7 separate regions of the Homo sapiens genome follow, and regions 2, 3, 4, 5, 6 and 7 are each linked to region 1. Evidence: promoter capture Hi-C in 16 types of primary human blood cells and fetal thymus (Javierre and others, 2016). All regions are on one chromosome and are shown on one strand. The core of a region is centred on a gene start or on the middle of the fragment in contact, and the rest is flanking DNA. Distances in the headings are between cores, read along the strand shown. Region 1 holds the start of SARDH (sarcosine dehydrogenase). Region 2 holds the start of LOC102723855 (a long non-coding RNA gene). Region 3 has its middle 13 kb from the start of MYMK. Region 4 holds the start of ADAMTSL2 (ADAMTS like 2). Region 5 overlaps ADAMTSL2 (ADAMTS like 2). Region 6 overlaps FAM163B (family with sequence similarity 163 member B). Region 7 holds the start of FAM163B (family with sequence similarity 163 member B).

What was found. Contacts are between HindIII fragments. The CHiCAGO score rates a contact against its expected background, and 5 or more counts as called.
Region 2: a contact is called between a fragment that was not itself captured here and the fragment with the promoter of SARDH in region 1, in 1 of 17 cell types (fetal thymus). The highest score is 5.3, in fetal thymus.
Region 3: a contact is called between a fragment that was not itself captured here and the fragment with the promoter of SARDH in region 1, in 1 of 17 cell types (fetal thymus). The highest score is 5.9, in fetal thymus.
Region 4: a contact is called between the fragment with the promoter of ADAMTSL2 here and the fragment with the promoter of SARDH in region 1, in 5 of 17 cell types (fetal thymus, activated CD4 T cells, megakaryocytes and 2 more). The highest score is 6.3, in fetal thymus.
Region 5: a contact is called between a fragment that was not itself captured here and the fragment with the promoter of SARDH in region 1, in 1 of 17 cell types (fetal thymus). The highest score is 5.1, in fetal thymus.
Region 6: a contact is called between a fragment that was not itself captured here and the fragment with the promoter of SARDH in region 1, in 2 of 17 cell types (non-activated CD4 T cells and naive CD4 T cells). The highest score is 7.2, in non-activated CD4 T cells.
Region 7: a contact is called between a fragment that was not itself captured here and the fragment with the promoter of SARDH in region 1, in 6 of 17 cell types (naive CD8 T cells, total CD8 T cells, non-activated CD4 T cells and 3 more). The highest score is 8.2, in naive CD8 T cells.

What each region holds. Positions count from the first base shown.
Region 1 is chr9:133,736,489-133,740,161 of GRCh38, forward strand. SARDH (sarcosine dehydrogenase) reads right to left here and starts at 1,864. Exons shown (of 21, transcript NM_001134707.2): 1 at 1,766-1,864. The HindIII fragment of the contact is 9,698 bases long and covers 1-3,673 here.
Region 2 is chr9:133,491,420-133,495,092 of GRCh38, forward strand. LOC102723855 (a long non-coding RNA gene) reads left to right here and starts at 292. Exons shown (of 3, transcript XR_428608.4): 1 at 292-3,673. The HindIII fragment of the contact is 3,026 bases long and covers 354-3,379 here.
Region 3 is chr9:133,509,765-133,513,437 of GRCh38, forward strand. No RefSeq gene overlaps it. Among named protein-coding and RNA genes, the nearest start is that of MYMK, 13 kb to the right of the region's middle. RefSeq lists an enhancer at 2,874-3,560. The HindIII fragment of the contact is 8,560 bases long and covers 1-3,673 here.
Region 4 is chr9:133,532,811-133,536,483 of GRCh38, forward strand. It overlaps ADAMTSL2 (ADAMTS like 2), which reads left to right and starts at 1,894. Exons shown (of 19, transcript NM_014694.4): 1 at 1,894-2,107. RefSeq lists a silencer at 411-500 and enhancers at 759-1,300, 1,301-1,840, 1,841-2,382, 2,923-3,464. The HindIII fragment of the contact is 12,534 bases long and covers 1-3,673 here.
Region 5 is chr9:133,556,262-133,559,934 of GRCh38, forward strand. The region is part of intron 11 of ADAMTSL2 (ADAMTS like 2); the gene reads left to right. Among named protein-coding and RNA genes, the nearest start is that of ADAMTSL2, 23 kb to the left of the region's middle. RefSeq lists enhancers at 1-81, 584-1,085. The HindIII fragment of the contact is 402 bases long and covers 1,772-2,173 here.
Region 6 is chr9:133,583,297-133,586,969 of GRCh38, forward strand. The region is part of intron 1 of FAM163B (family with sequence similarity 163 member B); the gene reads right to left. Among named protein-coding and RNA genes, the nearest start is that of FAM163B, 24 kb to the right of the region's middle. The HindIII fragment of the contact is 195 bases long and covers 1,679-1,873 here.
Region 7 is chr9:133,605,879-133,609,551 of GRCh38, forward strand. It overlaps FAM163B (family with sequence similarity 163 member B), which reads right to left and starts at 3,511. Exons shown (of 3, transcript NM_001080515.3): 1 at 3,199-3,511. The HindIII fragment of the contact is 240 bases long and covers 1,741-1,980 here.

The sequences.
Region 1 (3,673 bases), core at 614-3,113:
GGGTTCAAGCGATTCTCCCACCTCAGCCTCTCGAGTAGCTGGGATTATAGGTGCATGCCACCATGCCTGGCTAATTTTTGTATCTTTAGTAGAGACAGGGTTTCACCATGTTGGCCAGGCTGGTCTCGAACTCCTGACCTCAGGTGATCCGCCTGCCTCGGCCTCCCAAAGTGCTGGGATTACAGGCATGAGCCACTGTGCCCAGCCTAAATTCTTTAAACTAAGAAGTTAAGAACGGAGGTCTCACAACAGCCCTCAATGGAAGGGTGGGGTGGTGTCCTGCCCAGTGTGGACCTCCACTGCCCTTTTCTGGGATCTGCAGGAAAAGTGAAAGGGATGTGGCTGTGATCCAAGATGTGAAGTGCTGTGCCACCTACGTCAGTATGAATGACTGATATAATTATCTAAGAAAGTCAGCATCCTTTTTCAAGAGTGGACCATAGCTATGCACGTTCGTTCACTCTCATTGAACACCTATAGACACATGATAATGTCTCTACTTCACAGCGGGGGAGTCTGACACACGGAGAGGCTCCCTGAGGTGACCAGGGTCATAGGGCCTCCATGTGGCAGTGCCAGGGACTCTCTCCTGCCCCCTCTTCTGACCATCCCAGGGGGACTCAGGACCCACTGCCACACTCTGTCCCACCTGAACTGTGGGCACTGCCCAAGCCCTGACGAAGCCCAGAACCCTGTCCTAGGCACAGTGGGGGATGTGAGGGGGATCCCAGCTCTCAGGCTGGTCAGGGCTGCCCCCCATCTCCTGCCCCAGTGCCCCATCCCAAGGGAGGGAGCAGGGAGTCTGATTGCAGCGGCGTAGGGGAGTGAGGAGGTGTTGGAGCTTGTCCTCAGCCTCTCAGCCCTCAGTGTGTCAGCCCGCCTGGCTCCTGCCTGCAGAGGTGGCCCCGGACAAGGAGGCATGCCTCCTGCATGTGTCTGTACATACCTTCAGTCCTTGAAGGTCCACAGTCTTCCAGGAGCCCCCAAAAGTGGTGCCCCACCAGGGGAAAGCCAGCTTGAGTGGCACCGAGGAAGGCCCTCCAAGGCTGAACACCCCCACCCCACCACCCACCACCCACCACGGTGCCGCATGGCACAGCACACCTGGTCAGCTGTGGGCAAAAGCCTCCCTCCTCCTTCCGACTGTGCCCAAAAAGCGACAGCTGCTGGCGCCGGAGGCTGCCACGTGCCCCTTCACCACCTGCCTGGTCAGTCAGGGCTCTTCTGACTGTCAGACTGGGGGCTGGCAGCGGCCCCAGCGGGGACAGCCCAGAGCCCCTCCTGCCTGCCACCTCCCTGGAAACAGCTGCCTCCACATTAACCCACTCTCTTGCCCCCTCCAACTCTGTCTCGTACCTGAGTCAGCTTCCCAGGAGTGAGGGCTGAGGACAGCCCTGGGCTTGGGATCAGACAGATGGGTGGGGGTTTTGTCACAGGACTGGGGCCTCGAGCAACAACTTAACCTCACTGCAAAGCAGAGGACCCAGGAACGCCCTCCTCCTCCCAGGCTCAGGGGGTGGTGGGGGTCAAGCGAGGAGAGCGCCTGGCACCTTCGCCTGGTGAGGGTAGGCAGACTTGTGGGGAGGAGCGGCAGGGGGCGGGGAGGCAGCTGCCCATATGGTGAACCCTGGTCCTGCTCATGCAGCTGGATGGTCCCTGCAGCCAGAGGCAGAGGGAGATCCCAGCCAGATCTGACCAGGCCCAGCCCCGCCCACATAGGGGAGGCCCCAGCCTCGTCCCTCCCTGGGGGTGTACCTCCAAGTACCTCTTGTCAGCTGCAGTGCCCCTCGGCCCTAAGAGTGCTTGGCCCAGCAGAGGTGCCTTCACCTTCTTGCTTCCCAAGCAGTGGCCTGGCCGGAACTCCAGGCCTCCCCCGCCCCCCACCCTCGCTGCCAGCCCCATGTCTCCGCCCAGGATCTGGGCGGAGCGTACCGCCCACCACTGCGGCTTCTAGGCCAGCTTAGTTGGGGCTTCTAGGCCAGCCCTGTGGGCAGCTCCCTCTGAGGGCGGCAGAGCAGGGTTGTGAACCCCATGCCCCATTACCCGTAGGCGACCTGGCAGTCACCCTTCCGCTCCAACCCTCATTTCCTCGTCTCTGAAACAGGCGCCTCAGGGTTGCTGCAGTAGACCCAGGCACCACCTGCCTGCTGGAGCCGCCCGAGCTCCCCGCGCCCAGAAGGAGCTATGCACAGGCAGGGTGGGCAGGAAAGGTGGGGTCAGCAGCAGCTTGGGCCAGGGGCCCGTCCACTGCAGGGAGGCTCCTTTGGTGAGGTCATCTCAGCACATGCCCCAGTTTGCTCACCCCCAGGGACAGGATGCTCACTGCCTTCAGAGGCGAGTGAGAAGGCCTGGGTCAGCTTCCCAGGGACAGGGTCTCCTGGTCTGTCTGCGTCCTGCTTTCCCGAGCTCCCAGACCCCTCTGGTGTTTGGGGAGATGCCCCCAAGCCACTGGCTACTGCACAGCACGTAGCCCCCAGGGCAGGGATTCCAGCCTCCATTGACTGTTGGGGACAGCAGTGCCCAGGGAGGGGGCCACACAGCAAGCTGGTGGAGGAGGCAGACCGGATGCTGCAGCCTGACTCTGGGCTGGGGCAAGTTACCCCTTCCCAGACAGAAGTAGACACCCAGAGGAGGGGTGTGGAGGAAACCCAGAAAGAATACACCTCTGGATGCCCAAAGAATCAGAACAGGTGCTGATGGAAAGTCACATCTCCTCCTCGCGCTGGATCAAAGACGGGGCATTTCAATGGCAGTCTGTTAATATTGTAATGATGCCAGCTGCCAATACCGGAAGCGATCGTATAGTAAACTGCTGTAATTAATACCAATCAAATCATTGTGTTCTTATTCACACCGAGGATGTCCGACTGTCTTGTTGCCAGCTTGTCTATCCTCTACATTTACTGAATGCCCAATGTGTACAAAGCACTGCTGGGAAACCTATAGTGACATCTAAGACCCAGCCCCTGCCCTCGAGGGGCTCAGGGTCCACGAAGCAGACAGATCCAGGGAGAGACACGACACCACAAGGCTGGCTTCCTTCCAGCAGGGAATCCAGGAGGACCTCTTAGAGGAGGGGGCCTGGGCTCTGGGCCTGACCACGTGCTGACACCATTCTCAGTCCCTGCCTCAAAGGCAAAGGGCCCACTGGCTTAGGCCCCTGGCTGCCCAGTGGAAAGCTGGCCCCGCCAGTTTGAGGCTTACCTGGGGTGGTGTGGGGGTCCTGGGGCAGAGGACCTCCTCTTTGGATGGTGTGGCTTGCCCAGTGGCCTGAGCTAGGGCTGTGCTCACCCAACAGGGTGACGAATGAGCTCAAGAGGGCAAGGAAGGAGTGTGGCCCAAGTTCTCCCAGGAGTCCTGGACGTGCAAGTGCATGGGAGAAAAACGCAGCAGTCACCACAGCTCCAGGGCAGTGGCCGGGTAGCCCACACTTCTCCTGTCCCTGCACTCAAAGACAAGTTGCAACTGTTGCAAAACTGTTACAAGCCAAGAGGGCAGCACAATGAACCTGCACTTTGGACAAGGGGTGGTGGCTGGGGGCCGGTCCCGGCCTGTTAGCTGTCTGTTAGTATCGTAGGATTTTCATCCGGCAGGGCCTGTTAGCACCCAGCTCCGGTCTGGGAGAGGTGGAAAGGCTGTCTCCCCCCAGGGACTAGTAGTCACAGCTCTGGAG
Region 2 (3,673 bases), core at 617-3,116, 250 kb before region 1:
ACTTCCTCACCGGGACGGCATGGGGTGGGGCTCCTCCTGCAGGCGAAGCCCGCCCGGGACTGGGCTCTGGTGGGTTCTCTCTCTTTTCCTTCAACCAAAGACCTGGCTGGACACCCCCCATCTGACACTCCGGGGGCTTTCAAGGGGCTTCAGGCAACCCACATGCATTCTGGGCATCCCATTTAGGGGGATGAAGAAGGAATTGGATAAGGCAAGGGTGGGGCTGGCCCGTCTCCTCTGCTGGTGCATCAGCCCCTCCTAGGGACACCACTGTCCTTGACCCCTCTGCAGGCCAATCAGCCCTCCTTGGGAAGCCGCCGTCCTTGCCCGCTCTGCTCCTGGGGTCCCACCCAAGCTTCAATCCTCGCTGTGTGGTCTTCCCTCCGTGAGCCTTCATTTCCTCATCGGTAAAATGGGGGAGAGGAGAGCGCGGGGGTCAGCCCTGAGCCTGGCTGGTTGGCTACTTAATGGGCTTCTGGTACCTTGACCACCATCTTTGACAGCCTCAGTTTACAGATGAGGCCCTGAGGCCTGGAGGAAAGGATTAGGCTGCCTGGGATGTGGGTGAGAGGTCTGATTCTGACCCGGTGAAGTGAGCTCCTGTCCCCTCTGGGGTTCCCCAGCAGGCATTAAGGGAGGGGTCAGACGAGGTCCCCCTACCGTGGCCAGATGTGCAGCGACCTTGGGCTGTAACCTCAGGGGGTTCGCGCCCCCCACAGCCTGCTGGGGACTGACCAGGCCTGGGGGAGACTGGGGGAGCGAGGGGCTGGGAGGGAATACCACCTGGCCGGACGAGGCCCACACCGCCCTGCCAGCCTGGCATCTCTGCTCTCCCAGGCTCAGCCAACACCCGCTCTAGGACTCAGCCAACTATTTGTGGGCTGCTAAGTAGCATGACAGCTGCTTTTCTTGCTAAAGTATGACATTACATTTTTCCGGATGGCCGGGCACTTCCTGGCCTGAAGTGTGCTAAGTGACAGCCTCACTCTGTCCCGCTGCCCCCCGAGTCCCTGCCCGCCTCCCTGCTTTGTCCAGGCTGGCTTGCAGGGCCAGGCCGAGACCCGTCCTGGCCTGTGTTCAGACAGAGCCTAGTACGGGCCCCCAGGGCTGCAGGTGGCCCAGGAAACTTCCCCGGGGTTATTTTTGGCCTCTGTGCTGGCCCATGGACTCCCTGCCAAAAGCAATTACTGAATTTTCATCTTGTTTTGCTGATGGTTTAGACTATGTCAAAAATGTTCCACTGGAAGGCCTGAGGGCACCTCGGGCTGGGGGATGTGGGGCTCGGGAGCCCAGCTGTGGCCGGGTCCCCGGAATAGATCTCTGGGGTTGCTGGCGAGAAGAAGGAGGACAGGGGAGCCGGGGCCTGTTTGTTTGTAGCTGCCACTGGGTGCTTCCCACACGCACAGCGTGCTCGGCTGGTGGTCATGCTCCCTGCGCCCTCTGCCAGCTGTGCGTGTCCTTCTCTCCCACTTTACAGAAGAAGAAACAGGTTCAGGGAAAGGGCCGAGGGCATGCCCAGGCTGCACTCTGTTCTGTGGGCTGCCGCACTTCCAGCGCAGAAGGATTTCCCTGGCTCAGGGGTGGCAGGGACTGGGGGCTGGGGAGGCCACGGGGAACAAGGCAGGGTCTGCCCAGGCCCTCTTCTCACTGCCCGGGGCGAGGGGTGTCCGAACCAATCAGATCTTTCCTAAGTTAAATGTCTGTGTTGCGGGCTTCGGCTACTCTGTTCATCCTCCTGGGAATTGCCCAAATGGCAGCCAGGTGGATGCAGGAGAAGGTTGGAGGGAAGGCTGGAAATCAGAGGGGGCCGCCCTCAGGCTTCTGTCCATCTGCAGGGGCCCCACTGGCAAGCAGCACCTCTCCAGAACTCTGTGTCCCTTCCTCTCCCCTCCGCAGCAGCCCTGGGAGGCAGATGCTGCCATGAAACCACGGTGCCCTCAAGAAACCTGGCCATGAGGGGGCTTCCTGCCTGCCCACGGCCCTGCAGGTCATGGTAAGGGGTGGTCCTGGAGTTTGTGCCCTGGCACTTCCATTCCAGAGTCACTGCCAGGACCTTAAGCCTGGAGCTCCCCAGGCTGCATGGCAGTGGCTTGCTATGCAGGCCATGGCTGGGGTGAAGGGTGCCTGGGGCGAGGGGACATGTCACTTGGGGCCCTGGGTTGCCTGGCCTGCTGGGGGCCCCCTTGTTGCTCAGCTGCTGTCCTGGGGTCACGGCTCTCGGCCACTCTGCTCACTTGCAGTTCCTGGGAGCCTGTGGACATCGTGTTCTCGAGCCTGAAGGACCAGCAGGGCCCTGGGTGAACGGGGCGGTCCAGGGCCAGGGCCTGTGCTCACACTCCTGCGTGCATTCCCACGCTTCAGCAAAGCAATGCCGCCTCCTATCTGACAGGCTCAGGGTGGCCCTTCGTGGGTATTGTCACCACATTCGCTTGTGCATCAGACGCTTTTTGAGGAAGCTCAGGCCCAGCTTCATACCAGGCACTGGGATGGGGGTCAGCCCTGCCTTGAGGGCTGACCAGTTCCAGAGGGGAGACACACTGAAAACCATCACACCCTCGGCAGGCTGGGGCAGGGCAGAGGGGCACAGGCACCAAGACACAGGAGAGCCAGGTCAGGGCAGAGGGGCACAGGTCCCCGGACACAGGAGAGCCGGGGCAGGGCAGAGGGGCACAGGACTCGGGACATAGGAGAGCCGGGGCAGGGCAGAGGGGCACAGGCCCCCAGACACAGGAGAGCCGGGGCAGGTCAGAGGGGCACAGGACCCGGGACATGGGAGAGCGGGGACAGGCTGCTTCCTGGAGGAGGTGATGCCTGAGCTCAGTGAAAAAACACATGTGTGGGGCCAGCCAGGGGATCGGGTTATGCAGGGCGAGGCTGCCCCAGGTACTTGGGAGGGAGGTGGCCCTGGGTGGGTGTTGGGGCCGTTGGCGGCAGGTGCATCTGCCCTGGTGTCTGCCAAGGCAGAGCCCAGACTGGACGGCTCAGCGCTGGCCTGGGTGTGGGCGACGCTTGCAGGGGCCGTGTGGGTGTCTGCGTGTGAGTGCCCATTGTGAGTCTCGTGTACCTGTGTTCACATGGCTAGGGTCCGGCTTCCAGCTGGTCCTGTCGCCCTGGGATGCCACACGTATTGTAATTACATCTGGGATTTCAGGGGGAGGAGGAGATGGGGTGCCTGCATGCCTCCTAAAATGTTTGAAGGCCTTATATTGGAAGAATGGGAATGTCTGCCTGAGGGGCTTGCCCATATCGACAGAGAAGCCCGCCTCCTCCTGCAGATAAGGAGTGGGGTTTGCTTCTTGCGCATGGAGGATGGGTACAGGGCTCTGCTGTCCTGAAACGGACAGGCCTGCCAGCTCAGTTGATAGAGAGGGGGCTGGAAAGCTTGCCCGGGTGTCCCGCCCCCATGGCTGGGACACGAACTGGCCTTGAACCCACCCAGCCCCGGCCTCCCCTGCGTCCCCCAGGCTGGCGGCCTCACTCTGTGGCTGTGGGGCCTTTTCCCTTCCAGCTCCTGGCCCTGTTTTCCTGGGTCTTGTATGGGCGGGGGCCTTATGAATGTACCATCCAAGTAGAAAAGATGGGCTCACCACATGAACGCAGCTTCCAGACACCTCCAGCTGTGTCTCCCCAGGACCCTTCCATGGAGGTCTGACAGCCCTGGCCCAGGCAGAAC
Region 3 (3,673 bases), core at 339-2,838, 230 kb before region 1:
CTGTTGAGTGTTTAGAATACGTCTCCGCGTTGGTGCTGCCTGAGGTGTGCAGCACTCTCCCCTGAGCTGGGCTCCTGCTATGTGTGCCAGGAGGGGGTGTGGTGTGTGCCCCAGCACGGGGCACAGGCGTGGGCAGGTCGGGGCCGGAGTGTGGGGCTGGGGCGTGGCTGACCCTGGCACTGGGATGGGTGGGGCCCAGGCTGCTTCTGCTCCCAGGCTCGGGGAGGCTGTTGCTGGGTGTGTGCCCACCCATCCCCCCAGAGTGGGAAATGATCCAGCTGTGGGAGCACATGGTCATTCAGTCACCAAGAGTCCTCAGAGCTGTCCCATCCCTTTTGTTTCCAGCAGATGCACCGTCCTATGCAGTAACCACCAGCCACATGGACAGGGCTGCCTGATCAAACAGAACACTCTGGGATAAACTCGATTTCAGATACACGATGAATCATTTTTTGGTATAGGCGTGTCTCACGCAAGTGTCTCTCCAATAGCTCCCGGGGCACGCTTATGCTGCATGATCGTCTGCTATAGATCTGAAATTGAAACGCAACTGGGCGTCCTGTATTTCATCGGCAACGCCACCCATGTGACTTTTTTTTTGGTATTTTTAGTAGAGACGGGGTTTCACCGTGTTAGCCAGGATGGTCTTGATCTCCTGACCTCGTGATCCGCGCACCTCGGCCTCCCAAAGTGCTTGGATTACAGGCGTGAACCTCCGCACCTGGCCGGACCCATGTGACTATTCGAACTTAAATTATTTAAAATGAGGATAACATTTAAAGATCCAGGTTTGGGGTTGTACCAGCTACGTTGCAGATGCCCAGGCACCAGGCGTGTTGGGCAGCCCAGAGCATCCCCACTGCTAAAGCAAGTCCTCTTGGCCAGTGCTAGCTGGGGACTCCTAGTGACATCTAGAACTACTTTTCCAAGAACTGAACTCACAGTCCCCAGGTCTCCCGATCAGGGCTGGGGAGAGGGAGTTCTGGCTGGGGCGGCCTTGGAGGCCCTTTCTCAGATTCCAGGGACACGACGCCCTCGGGGCTGGCAGACATAGGGATTCAGAGGTGTTTGCATCTGCAGGCCATAATGTTTCTTTCTTGTTAACTTGCAGCGTTGGGGTGACCATTCTGGGTGTCAAGGGAGCAGGGTGGCCCCTCCCGGGTGCTCCCTACCTGGCTCCCTGGTCAGAGCCCCCAAGATGTCAAAGTGGGCCGTGGTGCCTGAGGCCATGGGAGGGAGACACAGCTGGGGGGACTGGCAAGACCCTGGCACCGTCTCCCACCCAGCAGCCACTGTCCCGAGCTGTCTGACGTCCCTGGCCCTCGGAGTCCTTATTGGCAAAGTGGGCTCAGGACTGTGTCCTGGGGCCCCCGAGGGGTCGCCTGTGAAGGGGAGGGGCCTGCCCCTGTCGGGAGGGTCGAGGCTGGGCCTGGAGCCCGGGATCCTGCAGTGGTGGGCAGGGACTGAGGGCTGGAGCGCGCCTCCTAATTGTCCGTGACTTACAGACTTGGCCAGGCTCTGGGCGGCCTTCGTAAATCGCTGCAGTGAGGAGCCTGCCAGTGTGGCCCTTCGCGCTTGGCAGGGCCCTCGTCGCCGCCCTGCTCGGAGTGGCCTGCCGCCTCCAACTTTCCATGTGCTGCTGCTGCGAAGCGGGAAAGGGGGGTGCTGGCTGCTTGCTGTGGTGGGGAGGGAGGTGGGGCGGCCACCGTGCAGGTGCCTGCTTCTGCAGGGATGTCCAGGGCTCTCCAGCTACGGGGTCCCCAGAGCCTGTCCCCTACAAAGCCTGGTGTGAGGCTTATGTGGTCTCCACACGGGGCCAGAGGGGAAGACGCTGATTCAAGGACACCCCGTCTTTTCACAGTGCATGTAGCGTGTGTGGGTGTGTGGTGTATGAAGTGTGTACATGTGTGCACGTGCGTGTGTGTATGTGTGGTGTGTATGTGTAGTTTATGGAGGGTGTATGTGTGTGCACATGCGTGTGTGTATGTGTGGTGTATGGAGTGTGTATATATGTGCACGTGTGTATGTGTGGTGTATGGCATGTGTACATGTGTGCACGTGTATGTGTGGTGTGTGTGTGGTGTATGGAGTGTGCATATGTGTGCACATATGTGTGTGTATGTGTGGTGTATGGAGTGTGTACATTTGTGCACGTGTGTGTGGTGTGTGTGGTGTATGGAGTGTGTATATGTGTGCACATGTGTATGTGTGGTCTATGGAGCGTGTACGTGTGTGCATGTGCATGTGTGTATGTGTGGTGTGTGGTGTATGGAGTGTGTATATATGTGCACGTGTGTGTATGTGATGTATGGAGTGTGTACATGCATGCATGTGCATGTATGTGTGGTGTATGGAGTGTGTATATGTGTGCACGTGCATGTGTGTATGTGTGGTGTATGGAGTGTTTATATGTGTGCACGTGCATGTGTGTATGTGTGGTTTATGGAGTGTGTATGTGTGTGCATGCATGTGTACGTATGTGTGGTGTGTGTGGTGTATGGAATGTATACATGTGTGCACGTGCATGTATGTGTGGTGTGTTTATGGTGTATGGAGTGCATACATGTGTGCACATGTGTGTATGTGTGGTGTGTGGTGTATGCAGTGTGTACATGTGTGCACGTGTGTGTAGGTGTGTGTGGTGTATGGAGTGCGTACATGTGTGCACGTGCATGTGTGGTGTGTGTATGTATGGAGTGCATACATGGGTGCACTTGCGTGTATGTGTAGTGTGTGTGGTGTATGCAGTGTGCACATGTGTGTACGTGTGGTGTGTGGAGTGCGTGCATGTGTGCACATGCGTGTATGTGTGGTGTATGGAGTGCGTACATGTGTGCACATGTGTGTATGTGTGGTGTGTGGTGTATGGAGTGTGTACATGTGTGCACGTGCATGTGTGTATGTGTGGTGTGTGTGCAGGCATGTGTGCACCTCCTCAGGTGGACTGGAAGCGTACAGAGGCAGTGCCATGCCTGTCCCTCAACCCCAGGTCAGGGCTTAGAAGTTGGGTGTCTTCAGCCCTATGATGGGGACACGTAGGACATGTTCCAGTTCCCCTGCTGGGTGGATGGGCTTGGAGCCCTGGATGCTGGAGCCTTGGCTTGCTCATACCCTGAGAGCTGGGGAGAGGGCGCCAGCCTTGGGCTGCTCTGCATTCAAAGACTCCGGGGCCAGGAAAGGGCTGAGCTTGGCTGTCCTCTATGCCTGCCCTTCAAGGCCAGGAGGGACGCCAGGTGAGGAAGGGGCAGGCCAGGGCCCCTGAGACTTGGGGGATGCCAGGCCATCAGGGAGGGCAGCAGATGGGGCCACCAGGCCAGGGTGTCAGAGCGACCGTATGGGGGAGGGGCCTAGAGGGCCACCCTGTCCCCAGCCCAGGAGCGGAGCCAGCTATCTCCCAGCCCTGGAGGCAACAGGGGGTGACTCTAGGACAAATAACCGCCCTCTTTCCATGGGCAGTGGACCTGGGCAACCACTCCCAAGCCGGTGGCACCGTCTGGAAACACAAACAGGCCCCAGACAGGTGTAGGTAACTTCCTGCCTGACAGATGGGCCTGGAATCGCTGGGTGCCGGGGGACGCAGGTTGTGAGGTGATGTCTGGGACCTGCTGCCACCACCCCCGCAGTCCTTCACAGACAGCACCGCCCATCACGCAGCAGGGAGGCCCAGCCGAGG
Region 4 (3,673 bases), core at 644-3,143, 200 kb before region 1:
AGGGGAGCTGGGGCCTGGAGGGTCACACACCTGCAGGAGGTCACAGAGCCAGGGGATGGCTGGCCCCACAGACCCGTCTCCCAGGTGGCCAGCCTGCAGCCTGTGCCGTCCTGCTGAGCCAAGAGAAGACACTGGGGGTGTTTGTGTTGGTCGGCTGTGGGGTCCCTCCCAAGGGAAACCGTTAGTCACCCTGGCGCTGGCTGGATGTGAGGCCACAAACGCCAGGAGAGCTCGGGGACTGTGCCAAGGGGTGCGAGGCCTGGCGGTCACCAGAAGAGAGAGGAAGGGGATGGCAGAGGCACCCAGAGCGAGTGTAATCCGGTCATGTGAGAGGGACTGGGTGTGTGTGTGCCTGTGTGTGTGTGTGTGTGTGTGTGTGTGTGTGTGCTGGGTGACAGGTGCCACCATGTCTGTGATTCAGCACAGCGACCCCAGGGGGCAGTGTGGGCCTGGGTTAGGGTTAGGGTTAGTCCTGGTTCCACACCGCAGGTGGCCCTGTGACTAGGAGCAGCCACCTTGCATCCCAGTTGCCCCAGCAGGAGAATGAGATGAATAAGACTTGCCTGCCCGAGGGTCCCGGGGAGAGAAACTTAAACAACCCGGCAGAGGAGAGAACCCGACACTCAGGAGCGCTGGCATCCCAGCCTTGCCTACTGGAGAGGTGACTTGGTCCCCGAACCTCAGTTCTTCCACCTGTGAAATGCAGATCATAAAGGTGGATCTGGCCTCACAGCTCTGGGCCCGTAGGACAAGCTGGACAGAGGGCAGACGGTATTATCGCTTTCACTACTATTACTGGTGGCTTTCCTTCCCAGCCTTTCTGGTGGGTGGTCAGACACAGGGCAGAACTTTCTCATGAAGGCAGCTGAAGGAACTCACAAGTTTCTTCCAGCAGGGAGGACAGAGGGAAGGAGAAGTGTCTTCCCGGCACTGCTGTGGGCCCAGGACATCTGCTGCATGGAGGCAGGGGCATGGATGAAAAGACACAGATGACCTGATGGAATGGTGCCCCAGCTTCCTCCTCCTCCCCTTTTTGGAGGTGCCTCTGTTTGCCGAGGATGGGCTCTGGGGAAGCTGGTGTGCAGAGGCTAGGTGCCCAGCCTTGCTTTAGGAAAGCCTCACAAAGTCTGGGGCCCGCCGGGAGTTTCCCAGGGGGGCTCTGCTGCTCCACCCACTCTCGCTCCCCTCTGTGCCCTGACTCAGCAGGAACAGAGGCTTGAGCTCCAGGCCTGGCCTGCCAGGGGCTGCCAAGTTGGTGCTGGACATCTGCAGAATCCCTGAGCCTCTCTGCCCTGGCCCTGGCTGCTCTAGCCATCTGGTCAGCAGGCCACGGGCACATCTGTCTCCTCCCTGGAGCCCTTGGTTCATTCTCGCTGGGTCTCCCTGCGTCCCTCCACCTGCTTAGGCCCCTGCATCTCGGGAGCTTTCTGAGGCTCGTGACCTGGGGCACGGTCGTCCCGGAAGTTCAGCCTTTCCCTCCGTACAACGGAGCCATCAGACGGGACACCTCATACATCCCAGACCCCATTCTCAGGAGCCCCAGGGACAGGGCCCGCTCTGGAGGCAGAAGCCGGACAGGCGGGGCTGGGGCTTTGCCACCGCCAGCCTCCCCGGTAACCTCAGGCCAGCGGCTGCTCCGTCTGGACACCCGACATGTGGCCCCCAGTTCTGGACCCGGGAAGAAGGCCTCCCTGCTCGCCGCTCCTGGGCCGCCGCCGCCGGCAGCAGCCAACAGGCAGCTGGGCCGGCCTGGCCGGGCTCCAGAGGCGCAGAGCGGGTTAAAGTGTGCGCCAGGCCGGCCGGCGCGGGCGGGGGAGCGGCCTGGTGGGAAGTGTGAGTGTTCCTCCCCGTCTGCCTGACAGCTATAAAGGCGGCCGCCGGCGCAGAGCCGCCACTGGGCTGCGCCCCTCCCGGGAACCCCCTCTCTTGGATGCTCTTTGAAGTGGGAGAGGGAGGCGGCGCGGGGGAGGAGGGGAAGGGGAGAGGGAGGCCGGGCCGCAGCCTCTGCACTCACGCCGCCCCCGCACGCACAGCGCACCTGGCGCCGTCTGCCCTCCGCAGCGCTCGCCCCTTTCTCTGGGAGGACAACCTGCTGACCCGAAGCCAGGTAGGCCACCTCGTCCCCGTCCCCCTCACGTTGCAGCGTCCACCAGGCCAGCCCACTGCTCAGAGTGGGGCTGGGGGTAGGAGCACCCCGCGCCCTCTGGAGCCGTTACATAACGTGGGGAGGCTTGTGGGGAGGGGTCGGGCCGCAGAGCACGGGGCAGGGTGGCCTCCCAGCACCTAGCCTTGTGCGCCCGGAGCTCTGTGTGCACGGCAGACCTCTCTGCTGCCGCCAGCCGCTGCTTTTGGACCCCAGGGAGGGATGGATCCCCGTGAGCGAGGCCTGGCCAGAAGCCAGTGGTGTCTGGAAGCCTTAATGAAAAAAGCAAGTGTGAGGCCGGCTGGCACCTGTCTTCAGCCGGCAGGCAGAGGCTGGGGCACCCGTTAGCCAATGGCACAGTGGAGGGGGCTCCTGTGGGTGTGAGGCTGAGAGTGCAGATGGAGGTCTGCAGGGGAGGGAGGTGGGGGGCAGGCGGCGGGGGCAGGGGAGGTCAGACTCAGGCTCCCCACTCCAGGGTGCACTGCTGCGTCGTCCGGGCTGCAGTGGTGTCCTTGGAGTGGCCCCTGAAAATCTGCAGGTGCCGGGCCTGCAAGGAAACTCTTCAAGTTGGATGGAGGCTGCTGAGGAGGGAGGGGCAGAGCCCGAGTTGGCCTCTGGCCTGGCAGGGGTGAGGGGTGACCTCCATGCCTTCTTCCCCTGGAATTGGCCAGGCGTGGGGGTCGAGTCCCTGAGTTTGCTAGTGTGCTACCTTGCTGTGTGGCTTTGAGCAGGTTGGCTCCCCTCTCTGGGCTCCAGGTTATGAGTGCAGGCTGCGTGGTTTCTGAAATCCCTTCTCTAACTCGCTGGCAAGTGACCCTCAGCACCTGAGCAAGGCCTGGACAGAGGTCATGGTGGATCTCTGGTCTTCCCTTCCACAGGGCAGGGTCGACGCTGAGGAGGGGGTGGGGAGAGCTGAGGGCCTGGAGGCTGGACAGTCCCTTCCAATGGGCTTGCTTTGACCCCTGGCAGGTGTTTTGAGCCAAGGGTGCTGGCTGTTGGGAGGAAGTCAGCCTTGTGGCCCTGGACTGCTGACATGCTGGCACAAACTGCACCTCCTCCTGCCCTGCCCCTCCCCCAATTCCATCTTCTCTCCGGGGATCGGGAGGCGGCATAGGTACCTGGGTTCTGCCTCACCTGAGTGCCGGCTGTTGCTGGATGCTGACTGTGGAGCTGCTGGTCTAGGGCGAGGCTGCACATTCCCCCGGGACCTGGCCAAGCCCATCCCCATGCACTGACCCTAGCAGCCAGTGGCAGAGGCCATTCTCCTGCGAGGCCAGCAAGAGCTGAGCCAGTTAAAATCCCAAGGTGCTCCTGCCAAGGCGCTGGACTGAGCCCAGGCCCATCCCTTCGAACCAGAGCCTTTCCCCCCGCCTGGGTCCCCAGCCCCCTCAGCCGAGGCTGGCTGTCTCCACAGCCCTTCTCTAGGGGGCTTGAGGACTTGGAGGCAAAGCATGGCATGCTTCCCTGCATGCCCTTGGATCAAGGGTGGCACAGGCTTAGCACGCACACCGCCGCTGGGTGTCTTGCCTG
Region 5 (3,673 bases), core at 723-3,222, 180 kb before region 1:
GCTCAGCATTTTATATGCATGGAAACATGTCATCGTCACAACCGCCCTTAGTGGTGGGGTTGCTATTTGCTATTGTGGGCTCAGAGAGAGCTAGCGGTGTATTCGAGGTCACAGAGCCTGAGAACCTGGGACCCCTTAGTTTTAAGCCTGGACAGTCATGGCACACACGCCTGTAGGAGGAGGCGGAGCTCCAGGCAGCTCCCCAAGTGCAGAGTGGCTCAGTCCCAAGCCTCAGCAAGGGCTGGAGAGGATCTAGTGGATTCCTCCATGAGGGGCAAGAGCCTGAAATCAGGGATGAAGAACAAGGCTGGCATTGCAGCTGGCAAGGGCCATGAGAGAGTCCACCTGGGGCCAGGCCTCCAGAGCCAAGGCCACAGCTGGGTCTACATGGGCAGCCATGTCTGGGGGCAGCCATGTCTGGGGACACCTGGGCAGTCACAGCCAGGGTTGTCTGGACAGTCACAGCTGGGGACGCCTGGGCAGTCACAGCTAGACCTGGGGAAGTCTGAGGTTGGGAGCTTCCCTGTGTCAGGGGCCAGCTGTGAGCAGGGTGACCCCAGACCTGTCGTGTCCCTACTGGAGCACAGTCCGTGGTGACAAGCCCCGCCTGCCCCCAGATAGAGGGTGGCCACCCTTGCAGGTCCCCACAGTTTCTCCCAGCAACTCACATGTGCCTGGGGGCTACTTTAAACAGGCAGTGAGTGGGGGTTGGAGGCAGGCACGGGCTCACTGGTGTTTGGTTTTGTTTTCTGAGGTCCAACCCAAGCCCTTTGACTTTAGACGCAAGCATGAACTGAACCCGGCCTGGGCTGGGAGTGCTGAGTGGGTCTTCCTTGGGGCTCAGGGACTGAATTTGATGGGAGATTCAGGGTTCACTCTCGAGGTGATGTGGTTTGGGGCCACCCTCCCACCCATCCAGCCCTGGGACCAGAGCAACAAAGCCAACCTCCCTGGTGAGCCAGGAGCCCCAGGGGATGCCTGCCGCTTTTCTCAAACTGTTTTCTGAGGCCACCGAGGTGCCTGGGGCTGCGGGGTGCAGGGAGGATGTCCTGAGCACTTCTGGCAGGCTCTGGGCGGAATCCTACTTTGCAGATGTGGACAGAGTGGGGCCTCGGAGCCTCCTCTGGCTGCCCCTCTTCCCACAGGGGTGGCACAGGGCTGTCTGCTCACCCTTTACCTTGGCATGCTCAAAGCCTTGGGTAGGTGGGGCCTGTGGCTGGTTCTCAGGACTCGGGCGGGGAGGGCCGGGCCTTGCTTTGGGTATAGTGTCTGAGTCTGAGAGGGGGTCCTGGGTAAAGGGCAGGAGGGACGGACCCAGACAGTGCCTGCCTGTGGGAACGGCACTACTCAAGGCTGCCAGTCTGTCTGTGTCTTCAGCGTGGGCCCTCTTCACCTCCCAGGGCAGTCCGGGGCATTCCCTGGTATTCCGTGTGTGAGGCCCACGGTAAGGCCTCCAGTAAGTAGAAGCTATTAGTAGAAAACTGAGCCTCCAAGTGGCAGCAGTGGGGGGTGCCTTTCAGGACCCACTGCCTGGGTCAGGGAGGCCAGCTCTCCGGCAGTCACGGCCCTCCAAATAGAATAGGTTTATCAGAGTGGCACCGAGGCCTCGCTGTGGAATTTGGCTTAAGGCATGGACACTGTGTGAGTTGAGCATCTCTGTCTTCCTCTGGGCCTCAGTTTCCCCATCTCTCACTGGGGGGCTTGTCAGGGGCTGCCCTTTGGGCCCACCAGGTCAAATATTCAGTGATCCTTAGGCCAGGGTCATGGCACAAGCTTACGGATCCTCAAGCCGCTTTGTAAAGAGTCTCTCCTGCCCCATCTTGGTTGACTCTTACCCTCCCCTCTTAGCCCCCCGCCCCAGGATATATTGAATTTCCAGGGCCTGTCAGGGGCCTCAAGGGTCGATCAACTAGGCTGTCAGCACTCAGAAAGGCCCTGACTGCTGAGATGCCGCTGCTCCCCCGGCCGGCCTGCCATCAAAGGATGCTGCCGCACAGGGACCAAAGATGGTGTGGAGAGATAAAGGGCAGAGGGAGGCGGCGGGGGAAACCACCAGGCCAAAATAGCCACGTCTCGGCCGAGTTGTCCAAACACAGGAAGTCGTGTCTGCTCAGAGAAGGCAAAATCAAAGGGGCAGCCCAGAAAGGAAAGGCTATTTTCATCTTTCCAGAAAAGCTTCAAACAATCAAGGGAGGGGCCCCTGTCACCAGACTCCGACTTTGGGAACAAGCTTCTGAGACACAGAGACGCGGAGTCCCTCTCCGCAGCCTTGGGGGGAGAGAAGAACAGAGCACTTTCTGGCTTGTTTATAAACAAACACGGTGGCTTCAGAGCTTCTCCTGCCTGGGGAGCCCGTGAGCCTGTGTCTGGCCGGGCATCTGGGCGAAGGACCCTGAGGAGTGACAGGTGGTCTGGTGGTGACTCCACAGCCGTCACCAGCCCCAGTCTAGCAGCTCTGACTTTCACAGCTGAGAGGGGCAGTGACTTCCTTCCAGATGGAGGAGAGCGACGGTTTGGTGCTTCAGCGATTTCCTTGGTGTTCCGCTTCCCTGTGCTACTTCCAAGAACGGAACCTGCTAGGCGTTGCATTGTTGTGCAAATATATGCAGGGTTATGTTCAAGAGTTGCATCTGCTATGCCCCACACGTGCTGCTGCGAAGAGTGTGTGGGCAGCCCCTCCAGAAATACCTTTGGTGCTTAAAATCCAAAGGGTTATTTTGAACCGGGCCCGCTCTCTCTTGAGTCAGGCATGAGTCATGCTGCCTGCTGGCTCAGAGCATGTAATTAGATAAAGATGGCGGAGCGTCTCCATGGGTGGGGTGGAGGGGCATGGGTTGGATCTTTTCATCTCTTTTTGTTCTTGGGGAGAATTTAAAGCTGTTGAAAGTAGGTGGGGAACTGGTCAGCACAGTTTAGTGTTTTCTGAATCGAACATTAAGGACTGGTCTTCCGGGTTCTCCGTTCCCTGAAAGGACTTACTTATCCTGATCTGGGTGCTCTGAGTGGCCCCCATTGGGGCAGTTTTCCAGGTTTCCAGGGAACTTTTGTTCTGAGATGACAGGGTCTTGGGAAACCCCCCACCCACCCCCATTTTTTTTTTTTTTTTGAGACGGAGTCACTCTGTTGCTCAGGAGTGCAGTGGTGTGATCTCGGCTCACTGCAAGCTCTGCCTCCCAGGTTCATGCCATTCTCTTGCCTCAGCCTCCTGAGTAGCTGGGACTACAGGCGCCCGCCACCACACCCGGTGAATTTTTTTTTTTTTTTGTATTTTTAGTAGAGACGGGGTTTCACCATGTCAGCCAGGATGGTCTCGATCTCCTGACCTCGTGATCCACCCGCCTCGGCCTCCCAAAGTGCTGGGATTACAGGCAAGAGTCACTGCGCCTGGCCCCCACCCCCATTTTTAAAGCTTCCTCTAAGTTCTGAAAGAGGGAGGAGAAGGCACTCTTCCCTTCCCCTTGAGCCCCAGGATGGGACAGACTCTCCTGGCTTGAAGCTCCCAGGTGAAGGAGGCTTTGAAGAAACAGTGGGACCAGCCCCCAGCCCGCAGCCCTTCCTGGGCCTTGGTCCCCATGCCTTCTCCCTTCACTCCTCTTCTCCCTCCCTGAGTTTAGGGAGCCACACCAGTGAACTCACTGCTGAAGCTCCTGTGGGTAGATCATTCCTGGGGCCT
Region 6 (3,673 bases), core at 526-3,025, 150 kb before region 1:
GGCTGAGACTGCAGGGAGGATGGAGACTGTAGGTGGCCATGGCTGGGCTGAGGTGCTCCCTCAGGGACAGGTACTGGGGAGCCATACAGGACACCCAGGCTAAACCCCCAAGTGCCAGCCTGGCTTTGCCTCTGGTTAGCTGCAAGAATGGGCCTTCAGTGCCTCCATTCCTCTGCCTCAGTTCCCTCCTCTATAAAATGGGAGAACCCCAGGGGTTCTGTGGGACAGCAGCTGCACCATGCTCAGTGCTGTGCTGATGTTAGGACCGTGTCCCTCCCTGGGTCTGAGTCCTTCATCGGGTCCCTGAGGGAGCTGGCCCCGCTCGCCGCAAAGCTCTCTCTCAGGTCTGAGATGCAGCCGGTCCCTGGCTCCGCCTGGCTGCAGCTCCTCTGGGCCCAGGTCTCCTCCAGCGGAGAGCAGCCTGGCGGCGTGACGGGAAGGGTGCCGGCTCAGGCCAGGTGCCCAGGGCTGTCAGCAGCCACCCTCCAACACCCAGGCTGGTCCAGCTGGAGCCTCTCAGCCTCGCTCTGCAGATACACGCCTGCCGAGGAGCAGCAACGCCCGAGACGGCGCCAGGTCCCAGGGCCAGGCATGGCCGACAGACACACACTCCGCTGGCAGCTCCACCAGCGCCCAGCCTGACATCAGACCACAGTTCACTCCGAGCAGCTCCCAAAAACACGGCCTCCCTGGGCCTCCACCCTCCTGCCTCCCCTCTGCTCTAGCTGTGCCCCACCCTCTGGGATGCCCATCCCCCCCCCGGACCTACCACGCCATCAAAGCCCAGCACGTGCCCTCCTCTCCCAGGAAGCCTTCCTGAACTTTAATACACACCACAGAACTTCAAAACTTCAAACGCCAGAGCTGAGAGGGACCAGGTCCCACCCCTTCATTTAATGGGGGAAGAATATGGACCACCTGCTGCCCTCCCTGAGTGCTTACCTTCAGCCTCCTCCCTGGGGACCCCAGGACTCTACTCAGCTGTGGCCCAGGTGATACGAGTCTGCGGGGCCTCTGTCCTGCTCTACTCTTGCGGGTGACCTTGGGTCAGAGGCCTCTCCCTGGGTTCAGTTTTCTTATCTGTACAATGGGTGTGGCAGGGTTTAGACGCTGATTCCTCCCAACTCTGGGGGACTTGGATTTTTAATTGGTCCTGCCAGGAATCCAGATGATTTAGACACCCAACAAAGTCAGGATTATGAAAATGTAAACAAACATCAAGTGATAAGGCGAAAAAGCCAGATGACACCCTCCAAGGGTAGGCAGAGAACGGGAAGGGCTACAGACACTTTGGCTCCCAAGGATACTTGTGCTCTGAGAAAGCTGAGTGCCTGAGAGAACAGGGGAGGACTTGGCTGCTCAGGGTGGTAACGGATGGGGGAGGAACCGAGGGAAACTTCCTGGAGGAGGAAGCTTCTGAGCCGGGCTGTGAAGGATGGGCTGGGAGAAGAAGGAGAGGGCCTGTTGGTGCTGGGAACAGCACAGGCCAAGCCTCGGAGGCAGAGCCATGCGGGTCAGGCCCAGCAACAGCCTGGCAGAGGCTACTCTGCCGCCTGCTTGTGACTCGAGCCCCACCCCTCTTCCAGCTCCCTGAAGCCTCCGCACTGCCAGCCAAGGCAATTTGGCGAGAATAGCGCTGAATTGTTTATCTGCCCCCTGGGACCATAAATGGTTTTAAAGCTTTATAAATGGCTTTGCTTCCCTGTTCCCACCCCGGGTTTTTACAGGGACAGGTTGTGAGATGGGGCTCCCCTGTGCGTCCCCCACCCCAGTCCACAGAGTCTGTGGCAAGGGGGCCTGGGCGGGCAACAGTCCCCTTCTGAGGGCCCCATCTCGTCTCTGTAGCCGGCAGGGAGAGCCAGCTGCGTTTACAAGCTTCAGTTGTCTCCTGCGGCACCGGCACCGAGGAATGAATGGCGTGGAGCTGGGGGTGGGGCAGGAAACACCTGGCAGCAGAGCCAGACACGGGCCTCCACCTGCCTCCCCCGGGAGCCCCCTCCCCACACCCACCTTTCCCTGGCAGGAGACCCCCTGCTAACCACCATCTGGGCCACACGTCCCGTGCTGAATTTCAGACTCTGCTAGTTTTCTGTCCCTCTTGCCACATCCCCCTCACTTGCCGTAAAGCCCACGGGAACGGACCCCTCCAGAGCTTATTTATTTTGTGCCCCAGCCCCAGCCCCCGCCACTGCCTTGCATGGTACAGGGCCCAGGCGACGCTTAATGAAGGCTTCTGTCTGCCTCGTTCACCTGAGATGCCCAGCGCTCGTGGTAGGAGCCAGGGAGAAGCCAAGGCCTACATCCTCGGCACTGGCCGTGCCCTCTGGCTCATCCAGCCCCGCGCCTTCCAAACCAACCGGGCCCCAGGACGGGGAGCCTGGTAAACACACAGACGTCCCGACGGCAGTGCAGCTGCACGGGCCCTGCAATCTGATGGCTTCACAAGCGGCCCCTCTAACCAGGTGAGGCGGGCGCCCTCCACTTCCAGATGGGGAAACCAAGGCCAGGGCAGAGAGGGCCAACCCTGGGGGCCCAGGGCAGAGCTGGACCTGGAACCCAGGCTTGTTGCCTCACGGTCAGACTCCTCCCCATGCCGGCGTCTCGTCGAGGGCTTATGGAGACTCAGAGCGCCTTTTCTCCACAAACACATCTGTCTGGTTACAAAGGCGCTCCCATTACCTGGAAGCCCAAGGGCCCCGGCGTCCTCGATCGGAGGAGAGCAGCCCGCAGAGTTCCTGTCTAGACCTCCTGCACATTTGTTCCTAATTTCATGCTCCGCGGGCTCCCAGATGCCTGCGTTCAGTAATAAACAGACGAGGAAGTGCTCGGCTGCCCTGTGCTGCCGCGGTTGGTCTCCGAGATGTTATCCAGAGCCCGGCTGGGGGTGGGCTGGCAGAAGGGAGTCTGCGGGGCCTGGAGGGCAGTTCCCAACAGCACCTGGAATGTCTGCCTTCCCAGCTCTATCCCCAGCTCAGCTGCGGGGGGAAGAGGGGGCAGTGAATCAGGCCCCTGCCCACCACGGGTTCTGAGGGGCTTGCGGTCTGTCTAGGAGGCAGAAAATGCCCACAGCAGGGGGACTGGTGCTGCCGGGCTTGGCACAGAGTGGGGAGCTGGTGTCTGGAAAACTCGTTCGTGCCCAGGGTTTGCCCCCGTGGTTGCCTGGATTCCTTGAGGGGCCCCCAGAAAGAGCACAGGGACCATGGCATTTTGCTGGCCACTTCTGGGGTTTCACAGATTTCTAGAAGCTCCCCCCAGACCCCAGCTGGAGAGCCCCCTGGGGTCAGTACCATGGAGGGGCTCTTAGGGTCTGTGGTTCACTGCCCAGCAGAAGCAGGGCACACAGTGTGTGTTTGGCACAAAAGTGCAGATTGTGGTGCCCAGGGGTCTCTGTGCTCTTAAAGAATGGAAGCTGTTTCCACGTTGGGCCAGCCGGAGCTGCTGGGCAGTTGGGTAGGAGTAAGGCAGGGGTGGGGTGTGATGGGGAGCAGTGGGTCCCTGCCTTTCTCAGGACTGCCACCCAACCATGTCAGGGGTTGTAAGAACCAGCATGGCCTCAGCCAGGCTTTGCGGGACTCTGTGCATTCATCTCGTCTCACCCTGGGACCCCCCAGCGTAGGCGGCTTTCCCAGGTGGTGGCGTGAACTGAGGTAAGAGTGGTTCGGCCACTGTCCAG
Region 7 (3,673 bases), core at 611-3,110, 130 kb before region 1:
GCCTCCATCATTTCCCTTCCTCCCCAGCTTCCTGCCTGCAGGGCCCCCTCTCCAAGTCATTCCCCATGGTGCAGCCAGAGAGGGTCCCTAAAGGGCAGAGCGAACCATGTCCCTCCGGGCTCCCAGAGCCTGGTTCCTGTGGACTGCGGCGGAAAGCCCAACCACTGAGCAGGGCTTACAAGCCTGGCGGAACCGGACCCCACCTGACTCTCCAGCCTCCTCCTTCACTGATGAGGCCCGAGGGAAGGAGGAGGCACAGTCTCCATTTTCCAGCCCAAGACCTTCAGGCCCAGGGTTCCACAGCCAGAAAGCAGCAAAGCTGGGCTTTCAACTCTACCTCCACCAGCCCACTTCACCCCAGGGGCAACAGGATTCCTTCCCCTCTCCAGCAACCCCCAGCAAGCGGGGATTGGGCCAAGGCCTGCGGGAGGATTCAGCAACGGAGGGAGGGAGCTGGCAAACACTGAGGCCTCGGAACTCATCAAATCCCCTCTGGAGCAGATCCAGAAAGACTGAGACACTGCAAGAAGTACCAGTGCCAAGTGTGGCAGCAGCTGGCAGAGAAGCCCCCCAGCCCCACCCTGGCCTCTGTAGGGTGGTCCCCAGGACCACATGCTCTTGGCATCCAAAAGCCTTTTGGCCAGGCTCACGGTTGCCCCGGTGTCCCATGTGCCAGCAGGGAAGGCAGGAGCACCCTCATTTTTGCAGATGGGGATGCGGAATGATGCACCCGTGGTCTGGCCTGGAAACCACTCTCTCTGCCACACAAATTGCCATTTTACCAACACACAGATCAGGACTTGCTACTCTGAAGAGGGAAGTGGCGGTAGGGCCAGGAGCGGAGTGGAGGACAGAACAAGGGCTCGGCTGCTGCTCTGCCTCCCCTCCTGCCCCGAGAGTTTAGAGTCAGAGGTAATTGACTGAGATGTAATACATCTCTCCCCTCCCGAGTGCTGTAATTATTCCTCGCTGGAGCCCGCTGCCATGAGGCTGCAGAGGCAGGCCCACGTGGCAGGAGCCAGAGGTCTCACTGCAGGAGTGGGTCTCCATGCTGTGAAGCCTCACCCAGAACCAGCACCAGAAAAGTCAGGAATATAGAGCCAGCCCCTAAATATACAAAACGGGGGTGATCATGTGAGTAGGGAGTAGGGTTGGCACGGACTGGGGGCTTGGACTCAGGTCAGTCCGAAGATTTCAAAACTGCTCTGCACTCCCTCAATACCATGGCAAAAAGGGAGGAACTGCACTCCTCCCAGCTTTCCTACTCCATCCGGGGCTTAGATGAACAGAGCTGTAATGGCTCAGAGGGGGGACATGAAATGATCCACCCCACAATTTTGTACATGGGAGACTGAGGTCTAGAGAGGAAAGTGACTTGCCCAAGGTCACCCAAAAAGGTGGACAGAACTCGAGTCCCGACTTCTCCATCTGTGCCCACCTTTCCCCAGGTGCCCTTGCTCATGTTTGCTGATGGTACTGGCATGACAGACGTGTGTTGGGGACTCCAGCCTCAAGGGTAGGAGGAGCTCTGTGGGGCTCCTTGCCCTACCTGCTGGAGAGGCGAGGGTGGAGAAGCTGCAACACCTCTGTGTGCCAGGATTCTGAGTGGTGTCAGCACGTCCTGAGAGTCCAGCAATGCACCCTGGAGCTCCCACTCCCTCCCCATGCAAGTGGGGCACTGAGGCTGGGAGAGCCTGTGCATCCTTCCCAGACCCCCAGATCCTTCGGGAGCCATTTCCAAGCTTTCCGGCTGAGTCTAGACAAGCCGGCCCCATTGGAAACTCAGCTGATAGGGAAACCAAAACCCAGCTGGATCCAGGATACAAAGACTGCCCTGTGGGTCTTTTCATAGCATCGTGCAGATGCTCAACAAACTGCCAGCAAGTGCAAGACCGAATGAACAAAACCCCACATTTCCTGGGCCCCCGAGCCTTAGGGTGAGATTTTTTCACAAGCTGCCAGCACCTAAGCTGTTTAGGAAGCTTGCAGTCAGTGCACCAAGAGTTAAAACCAGCCCTTGCCCAGCCCAGGAAGTGCTGGTTCTCACCTGCTCAGGTGGGTAGAGCCCTGGTCACCTCCACTTCACTCTCAATTCTATAAGAGGGAGAAGGTGGGAAGATGGGCAAAGGTGCTTTCCCAGCAACCCTGAACTTTTTGGGGGTTGGTAATTACTGCTCTCCCCAGAAGCCCTGAAGAGCGTGAGTTGGCAGGGGCTGAGGGAAATGCAAGGGAGAAGGCTGGCAGGGTGGCCCGCTGGCTCTCCTGAGCTCCTGCTTACTGGGGAAGGTGCTAGGACGAATGCTGGGGCTCAGGCCTCAAGGATACTCCCCTTACCCTGCAGAAGGTTCCATGAACTTGACCCTTGAGTTTCTTGTCTCAGAGCCATCGGGGTTGCTACGGGACACACACTGGCAGGACCACTTGTGCCCAGGCAGTCCGTGGCTGCGGGAGGACAGGACACGAGTGGGGTGAGACAGTGGAGCCCTGAGGACCCATGTTGAATATCTCTTGGGTTTTTGGTGTGTAGAGTCTTTTCTTTTCTGGCTGAGGAAACCTAGTGTCAGTTAGGCAACCCCCCACCTGTCAATGAAGCAGAGATTCCTAACAGACAAAGGTGTGAGGTGGTGGTGACAGAGGCCGGCGTGTTTGAGGCCATCTCCACCACTTCCCCACTCTGTGATCGTGGGCAAGAGACCAAACCTCTCGGAGACTCAGTTTCTGCATCTGTGAAATGGGGCCAATGCCCCTTTCTCGTGGGTGTTGGGTGAATGGGATGGGATGAAAATGCAGCACCGACTCTGGAAGAAGGCAAAGCTCAGCAAATGAAAAAGTCTTAGCTCCTGGCAGGGAGAGAAGGCGGCCAGGTTTCCAGAGGGCTCTTCTGGGAAACTTTCCCTCCCCACTGCCCCCTGCCCCCAGGCCACTGTTCCGAGGGAAATGAAGCCCCCCTTCCTAAAGTGGGTCCCCCACCTCTCCCTTAGGCCCTCGTGCCCACCTGGGTCTCAGTCTCCTCCTCGGGGATGCGCTTTGAGGGTGGAAGCCAGGGGATGGGTGACGCCAGCTGGGTCAGGGGACCTGGTGCGAGGCAGCCGGGGCAGGCTGCAGTGGGCACTCTGGACGAGTGGGCACCTAGCTGGAGCTTTCCAGCCTGCGTCTTCTGCCCCACACCCCGTGACCCGCGGCCCGCTCGGCCCTTACCTTGAAGCATGGGAACCGCGCTGCCCCGGCCGCGAGGACTTGGGCGCACGTGACGGGGCGGGCGGGCGTCCGACCCGGGCAGGGCGCAGCTAGCGGCGGCCGCTCATGCCCAGGCCACGGCGGTGGCGCCTGGTGTGGCTGGGCGGGCGAGGCGGGCGCTGAGAAGCCCGGGAGGCCCCCGGGGAGGCGACTGCGTGCCCAGGCGGGCACCCCTGCCAGCTCCGCGCTGCGGCCGCGACTCCGGACGCCCCGGCTGGCTCCCTGCGAGCTGCACGCGCGGCTCCAGCCTGGTCCCGAGCGCAGGGCGCGCGCTGGCGGGGAGGGCGCGCGCCCGAGCCTGGCGGGGAGCGCGCGTCACCGGCCCGCGCGCGCAGTCGTCGGGGGATGCCGGGAGCGGCCTGGGGAGCTGTCCCTGGTGCTGACGGCTCGTCCGCTCTCGCCCGGGACGCGCGACCTCCTGGAGGCCTGGGGGTGC